3 separate regions of the Homo sapiens genome follow, and regions 2 and 3 are each linked to region 1. The links are contacts of gene promoters, found by promoter capture Hi-C in blood cells and fetal thymus (Javierre and others, 2016). All regions are on one chromosome and are shown on one strand. The core of a region is centred on a gene start or on the middle of the fragment in contact, and the rest is flanking DNA. Distances in the headings are between cores, read along the strand shown. Region 1 holds the start of MCTP1 (multiple C2 and transmembrane domain containing 1). Region 2 overlaps SKIC3 (SKI3 subunit of superkiller complex). Region 3 overlaps ARSK (arylsulfatase family member K).

Region 1 (2,700 bases), core at 103-2,602:
AGCATTTCTCCTCCCGCCTCCCGGCCCCCGCCCCCCGCTCCCCGGGTGGTGAACGCCTGAAGAGGGAGGCGTGGTCCCGCGCACCTTGTCTCCGGCCGCGCCACCGGCACTCACCTGGCTGCTGCCGTGCTCCTCGCCCGTCTCCGGGGCCCGAGACTCCGCGGGACTCCGCGCCGGCTCTGCGGGAGGAGGCGGCGGCTCCAGCAGCTGCTCCAGGCAGGCGGTGCCCGGCAGAGAGGAGCTCTTCTGGTGGCACAAGTGCGCCCCGGGGCCCTGACGCCGTGCACCCTCATCTCGGGCGCGGTCCCCCCTCGGGGGAGGCTGGGGCGAGGAGGACAGGGAGGATGAGGCGGAGGAAGAGGAAGGAGCTGAGTCGGGGGAGCGTCCGCCAGGAGGCGTCCCTCCCGCTGCTCCCGAGGCCGCCGCGGGCCCCTTTACGGCGGGGAGCAAATGCTCGCGGATCCGGCGGCGTAGCGTGGACCCCTGCTCGGCTCTGCCGGCGCCGCCGGGCTCCAGGGGCTCCGGCGACGAGCAGCACAGGTTGGGCTGCGAGGAGGAGAAGACTCGGTCCAGCACTTGCTTCCGCTTCTTGAAGCCGCTCCACCTGCTGCCTGCACCACTCCCCCTGGCCGGTGCATTCCCTGTGCCCACCGGGGGTGGCGGGGAGGGCGACGGGGTGTCCGCAGTGCGGCGCTCTGGACCCCCAGCGCGCCCGCCCCCGCCGCCCTTGCTCCTGCCCACCCCCAGCTGCAGGTTCTTCCAGAGCCGGGCCTGGAAGGAGGAGGACGCCGCCGGCGGCTCTGGCTCGCCCGCCGCGGCAGCCCGGGGCTCCATCCTCCACCCCCTGCTCCTCCTCTCCCCTCCTCCTCCTCCTCCTCCTCCTGCTTCTCCTCCCTCTTCGGCTGCACCTCCTCCCGGGTCCCCGCGGCGCTGGCGGTGGCGGCGGCGGCGGCGGCGGGCGCAGCAGCAGAAACCGGGAGTGCCCAGCGACTTCAGGCCAGCTCGGGGGAAAGAAGCGGCCGCCGCCGCCGAGGCTCTCTGGCCTCGGGACTCCGGCGCTGCCTCTTCCTCCCGCACCTGCTGGGGTGGGCTGGAGCCGTAACCGAATCCCGGCCGCGGCGCCTGCAAAGTTTTTCCCTCGAAGCTCCGCGGCTCCAGTCCACTGGCGTCCCCCAGGCCGCGCCCTGGCTCCCTCTTCTCTCTGACCGAGCTCGGGAAGCTGCACGCACCGGGGCGTGCGCGTCCAGCTGCGCCAGGGACCGCACCCGGCGCCCTCTGGGCAGCACCTGTCAGCGGCGGGGGCGGCTGCCTCCAAATTGGGCGCGCACGCGGCTCACACAACAAGGCGCGTCTGGCTGGAGACTCCGGGGACCAGCAGTCCCCCTGGGGCGCCCCGGGACCATCCTCCAGCTCCTAGGTGGGAGGGCCGGTAGGAGCCGGGTGGAGCTAGGTAGGGCCCGAAGCCAGCTTGCTCCCTAGGATCCGGCCACAGTTGCCCAGGCAGCTCGCTGTGCGCTGGCCGCTGGCCGCGCTGGCGATCGTCTGGGTCGGATGAAGCGAGCTGGAGTGGAAACTATGTGCCCTCGATGGGTCTCGTGGGGGCGCCGATCGTCCACACTGAGCGATGAACCCGACGGAGTTCTAAAGCTGAAGACGTCTGCCCCCGCCCCGTTGCGCTCCCTGGGTCCAAGACGAGAGTTTAATTTCTTCTGTCTTGACTTCATCCCCATCCACCCCTCCCTTTTCTTTATTTGCCTCTGCACTGGTCTCTTATGATCAGGTTCTAGCATTTCCGGAGTCTGACGATAAAGCCAGCCCTTAAGTTGCAGGGAGTTTACGGTGGACGAAGATGGGTGATGCGCACTGCCTTTGATCCGATTCGGCACGCACAGAATCTTGTTCTTTTCATTCAAGCGCATTTTTTCTTTGGTTACTTCATTTGCTTGTTGCAAGGCAAACGGAAAAGGCTTTTTAGCTCATTCAGACTTTGCTTCTCCCAAAGCTGCTCAGCCAGGGTCTTCTGATTCTGCTAGGAGAGACTTCTGAAAGGCCAGCAACACAATGCCTCTTTCGTCCTCCTAAATGGGGAAAACGGGAGAGTTCCCTAAGCTGCGGTAGCACACTGATCAGTCTTGTCTAGCTAGCAGTATGCTTTGGAGGTGTTACCAACCTAAGTTTTTTGTTTTGTTTTGTTTTTGTTACCTTTATAACAAATATTTATTAAGCACCTACTATATACCAGGCACTGTGATAGGCTCTGGGGATGCAGCTGTGAACAGGGCATCAGGGTCCCACCCACATGGAGCTTATTGTGAGGGTGAGGGTTGGGAGGTGATGCGAGACAATAAACAGAATTTCTAATATGCAAAAGTCCCATGGAAACAGTTAAGCAGGGTACCACATAACAGAGTGGCTACAGAGGAAGAGCTTCCAGACAAAATGCAGGACACCCAATTAAACTGACTTTCAGAGAAACAATGAATAATATTAGTATATGTATGTCCCAAATATTGCATGGGACATACTTATACTAAAATACTATTATTTATCTGAAATTTAAATTTAACTGGGTGTCATGTTTTTGTTTGCTAAATCTGGCAGCCCCATATGGAGAGGTTTTTGGTTTTTTACATTATGTGTACAGGGAGAGTCTCTCTGAGAAGATAAAATTTTGAGTTAAGACTTAATGAGGACAGAGAA
Region 2 (2,700 bases), core at 9-2,508, 260 kb after region 1:
TCTTGTCACCTAAGTCAGAGTAAAGGGAGCACCAGGGGGAAAAGGCACTCAGGCCTCATAGCACCTGCTCCAAGATTTAAATTTTCCAAAAGCCCGGCTGCTGAGAGGGCCTGCTGTAACCCTAAGACCAGTTTTCCCCAGTAGCTGCCATGACTCTAAGTCTAGTTTTACCTACCATCGTCACTCACCAATCAGAGCCTGCCAGCTCCCAAAAGCTTCTCTAGTACCAGTGAGCTTTCTTTCAAAATAATACATAACATTTTTCTTTCCAATAAAATGGCCAATCTTCTCTTTGTTCTTCAGACATACAAAAGACCACTTAGCCTGTGTGTGTATGCCCCAAATTGCAATTCTTGTTTCCCAAAATAAAATTATTTATTTTGACTTCAACATAATAATGCTGCCTCCTAACAAACCACAACAATGATGTAACTACCAAAGTTAAGCTCTAAACACTGGGGCCTTATTAATGCTTATGTTCCCAACACCAGGTACAATGGCTGGCACTTAACAGCTGAACAAAATGCCATACTCAACCAGCAATTAGTTAAGTACTGACTATCTGCCTGATGACCAGGTTTTCAGAATCCAAAATGGATGTTTAAGAAAATGATTATCAACAATGTGGTGAAGGCAGGTATGAGATTCTGAAAGAACATAGAGAAAAAAGTACCGAACTCTGCATAAACTGGAGAAGGCTTCCCTGAAGGGATACTCATACCATGTGATAAAGCGCCACAGGCAGACAAGGTGATGATCAGACAAAACCACAGCAAATGCAACATTCCTTTACTCAAAAATTCATTTAGTCTCAACCAATATTCTGGGTTACTACACATTAGTAATCAGGCATTTATAACTGATTAGCTATCCATTTGCATTTTCTAATTGGGTCTCTCTAGTATAAATTATTAACTATTTGGTGGAATTAATATCTGAATTTTGCAGAAAGTCTACAGGAAGAAGACAGCTATGGTGGTGCTGTATATAACTGAAACGTGCATCAATTAGATAAACCTAGTGCTGAAGGAAACAGTCCTTCTTCCCTTCTTGTATTCCATCCACAACCTGTCCCCACTTGGAACACACTGCCCACCTTCTTCTATATCAAGATTAATACTATCACGTCCTTGCATCCCTGCTGGGCTCCATCAGTCACCACCAGAAACCTAAACCTCACAAGGGTATCCTTTACCTGTTTACTCCTTAGACTCATCCTCATATTGCCATGTATACTGCCCAGTCTTGCCCAATTCCCTCCCTACCACTCTCCTAAATTCTTCATTGTGCCCTCTGGAACTCCCAATCTGGGTCAGCCAAGTTCCTTCCATATTTTTAACCTTTCTTTTAACCACACCAAGTTCTGCCTCAATGAAAACATGGCTAATTCCCCTATACATCCTACAGATTGCAGATGACTTCTTTTACAGCTCACATGCCACAGGCCTAGAAGGTGAGAAACTGCTTCTTGCTCACACTGTCTGTCACCTACAGTCCTCTACTGCTCCTTCCTCCTTCAGCAACCCCACTACCTTTGAAGCTCAGGCCATCCAACTATACTACTAAAAATAGCCTTCTTGTTGCTACAGTCTACCACCTTCCTAATTCCCCTTTCCTTCAGTGAAAATTCTGTATCCTTCTTTTCCACCTCAGTGCCTGTATTCATGTTGATATCCCGTTGAACACTCTGGCCTCTCAGTTATGTGACCACCACACTACTCACCCATCCAAAATCTGAATTTCCAGCACAGTACTATTCTGCTCCTCTCTAACCGTCCCAGTTCAATTACTGTAGTGGTCCCATGGTAACAAATCTTTAACCTTTGGTTTCTCTAATTTTTTCTATCCTAAACGCTTTTTCCATTGCCTATCAGCCCACCTCTCATTTCTCATTCCTCTTTACCCAGCTTAGACTCCAGGGCTCACCACTGTCATCACTCCCTTGTCATGTCTTTCCTTTGCATGTCTTTCCTTTCTTCTTTCTCTCCATCCATACTTGAACCCCATCATGCCCATCTCCAAACCTGAGAAACTGAATACAAAGAGAAAAACTACAGCGGAGTTCACTAATTTCACTTTAATAGCTTGAAACTTCAAATGGGCAATCACTAGGGCCTGCTAATCTTTCCAATCCTTACTAGCAAGTTTCTTTTCCCACCATGAGAAAAAAAAAAAACAAAAAAAAAAACAAAGAAAGAAACTATTTCATACCTTCTGCTATCTCAAACCTCCTAACCAATAACCAAGTCTTCTCCCAGTCTCATCTTATACTTTGCCAAGAAAATAGAAGCCATTAGAGAAGAAAGCTTTTCCCAACACCAAATCTATAAGCCCAACACTGTATGGATGGGCACCTATCTTCTCTCCTGCTAAGATGGAAGAAGGATTAAAGGGCTCCCTCAAGCTCTGGATCCCAGTGTGTCTCTCACCTACTGATGACTTCACTCCTACCACTACCCTCTGTCTCTCCCCCGAGTCCAATTTCTCCCTCTGAATGGAATCATACCCATCAGCATAAAAATAAGCTTTATAATCTTGGTCCTCTCATCCACAAACCAAATAGAAATAGAACACTAACATGCCATTAAACAATGAAAACTTTAAGATACAGTAGCATTCCACGATACAACCATCAAAAGATATTTATGGGATATTCAGGTTTTAAGAACTTGGTTTTGTTAAGTTACCAATACAGAGAAA
Region 3 (2,803 bases), core at 37-2,536, 280 kb after region 1:
ATTTAATAGGGAAAGAATGATCTTTTAAACAAATGGTGCTGGAAAAAAAAAATATGAATGAAGTTGGACCCTGCCTTGCACCATACACAAACACACAAAAAAAAACTTTAAGTAAATTGATTGATTAATCAAATGTAAAACTAAAAAACTCTTACAAGAAAACATAGGTGTAAGTCTTTGTGATTGTGGATTAGGCAATTAAAAGATGGGCAAAAGATCTTTTTTTTTTTTTTTTTTTTGAAATGGAGTCTCGCTCTGTCACCCAGGCCGGAGTGCAGTGGCGCAATCTCGGCTTACTGCAACTTCTGCCTCCCAGGTTCAAGCCATTCTCCTGCCTCAGTCTCCTGAGTAGCTGGGACTACAGGTGCCCGCCACCACACCCAGATAATTTTTTAATTTTTATTTTTAGTAGAGATGGGGTTTCACCGTATTAGCCAGGATGGTCTCGATCTCCTGACCTTGGGATATACCCGCCTAGGCCTCCCAAAGTGCTGGGATTACCGGCATGAACCACCATGCCCGGCCAAAAGATCTTAATAGACATTTCTTCATAGAAGATACGCAGATGACAAATAAATACATGAAAAGATGCTCAACATCATTAATCATTCGGGAAATGTAAATCAAAACCACAGTGAGACACCAGTTATACCCACTGGGATGGTTATAATGAAAAAGACAATAACTAGAGATGGCAACAATGTGGAGGAATTGCAACCCATACCCTGCTGGTAGGATCACGCAGCCATTGGAAATCAGTTTGGCAGTTTCTCGAATGGTTAACCATAGAGTTGCTGTATAATCCAGCAGTTTTACTCCTAGGTGTATATTCAAGGGAAATGAAAATATAAGTCTACACAAAAACTTCTACATGAATGTTCATAGCATTATAATGTTCATTATACATAATGGCCAAACAGTATAAACAACCCAAATGCCCATCAATTGATAAATGGATAAATAAAATTTGGTAATATTATTCAACAATAAAAAATATGGTATATGCTACAATATAGATGAAACTTAAAAAGATTATGCTAAATGAAAGAAGCTAGTCAAAAAGGACCACATATTGTATGATTCCATTCATATGAAATGTCCAGAAAAAGCAAACATAGAGCCGGAAAGTAGGTTAGTGGTTGCCTAGGCTTCAGGAAAATAGAGAGTAATGGCTAAAGAGTGCAGAATGTCTTTTGGGGATGATGAGAACATTCTAAAATCGACTATGGTAATGGTTGCACAGCTTTCTGAATACACTAAAAACCATTGAATTGTACACTTTAAATGGATGAGTTGTTTAGTGTGTTAATTATATCTTAATAAACCCATTTTTAAAAGAACAGAAAACAGGCTAGGCACGGTGGTTCACACCTGTAATACCAGCACTTTGGGAAGCCACGGCGAGCAGATCACCTGAGGTCAGAAGTTCGAGACCAGCCTGGCCAACATGGTGAAACCCCATCTCTACTAAGAATACAAAAATTAGCCAGGCATGGTGGTGGGCACCTGCCCAGCTACTCGGGAGGCTGAGTCAGGAGAATCGCTTAAACCTAGAATACAGAGGTTGCAGTGAACCGAGATTGTGCCACTGGACTCCAGCCTTGGTGACAGGGTGAGTCTCTGTCTCAAAAAAAATAAATAAAAATTTAAAATTAAATAAATAATAGAAAAGAAGCATCTCTGCCTGGGTCTTAAAGGACAGAGGCATCTTCTGCATCCCCACTCCTACTCCTACCTCTACTCCCTGCCACTGCACCTGTATCAGTTTTAGTTTTGCTGAGGTTTCAGGAGTGGCAGGGGAGAGTAGGTACAGGAGTGTTTACTAGAGAGTCTAGTGAGAATCTCATTCAGTCTGATGGACAGATCTGGGAAGAACACTATAAGCAGTCTTGCCATGCTGACATGGCAAATTAAAGTTGCTGTTACATTCTTTTATTAGGATGATTAATTCAAACCTAAACTTCTCTGATTCTGCATGGCCCATAATGATAAGGAACCGAGTACAAGCCATGGTTCAGAAGGAGCAATCAAAATCACAAAATTGTATCTACAAAAAGACTTACCCACCCCAAGGGGGAAAAATGTGTGGACCCATGAGAATTAATTAACAAGAGCAGAATGCAGCAACTAAAGGCAGTTGGTACCATTTCTGTAACTTTTGCAGAAAGCCAATTAATGGGTCATTTTTATTTCTTAAATGCCCAATTTTAGAGTGCTTAATTTGTTTGAACCATAGGAATGGCCTTGAGAAAATTGAAATGGGCTATTAGTAAGTTATAGAAGTTATAACAAAAGCCATTTTTCAAGATTTTCTCTGCCAACTAAATTTGACAGAACTGTGTTTTCACTTATAACTGGCTATCCATTGTAAACCACATTAACATACTATGGAAAACTTACTTTCTCTCTTTTTCATCAGCCAGCTGTGTTAAGATGCCTTTCAGTTCAGAATGAAATATTCTACTGACCGTCTCCCATTGATACCATTATCAGCAGTACTAGTAGTAGCCTAGTTTTTAAATGATTTGTTAGTGTGTAAAAACTACATGAAGTCAAAAACCAAAACTTCTAGAAAATTTTTAAATATTTTCTCTAATAACATTTTGGTCTTCGTTTAGAGTATTATTGATATTTCTGATATTGAGAATATGTATATCATAATTTAAATATTTCCTAGGAACCAAATTTTGCAATTGATATGCTTAATCCAGTTTATTAAGCTTTGCAAAAATACACTGTTGAATTTTGAGCATAAATTTGTCTTCTTTTTTAAATTGAACAAATCTCTGGATTAGAGATTCAT

What was found. Contacts are between HindIII fragments. The CHiCAGO score rates a contact against its expected background, and 5 or more counts as called.
Region 2: a fragment that was not itself captured here is called in contact with the fragment with the promoter of MCTP1 in region 1 in 1 of 17 cell types (megakaryocytes); the score reaches 8.5 in megakaryocytes.
Region 3: a fragment that was not itself captured here is called in contact with the fragment with the promoter of MCTP1 in region 1 in 1 of 17 cell types (megakaryocytes); the score reaches 6.2 in megakaryocytes.

The regions. Positions count from the first base shown.
Region 1 is chr5:95,283,742-95,286,441 of GRCh38, forward strand. It overlaps MCTP1 (multiple C2 and transmembrane domain containing 1), which reads right to left and starts at 1,353. Exons shown (of 23, transcript NM_024717.7): 1 at 115-1,353. The coding sequence starts at 834. RefSeq lists silencers at 442-561, 642-701. The HindIII fragment of the contact is 7,244 bases long and covers 1-2,700 here.
Region 2 is chr5:95,544,176-95,546,875 of GRCh38, forward strand. All of the region lies in intron 4 of SKIC3 (SKI3 subunit of superkiller complex), which reads right to left. Among named protein-coding and RNA genes, the nearest start is that of SKIC3, 9.5 kb to the right of the region's middle. The HindIII fragment of the contact is 2,091 bases long and covers 214-2,304 here.
Region 3 is chr5:95,560,584-95,563,386 of GRCh38, forward strand. All of the region lies in intron 1 of ARSK (arylsulfatase family member K), which reads left to right. Among named protein-coding and RNA genes, the nearest start is that of ARSK, 6.9 kb to the left of the region's middle. The HindIII fragment of the contact is 2,864 bases long and covers 1-2,718 here.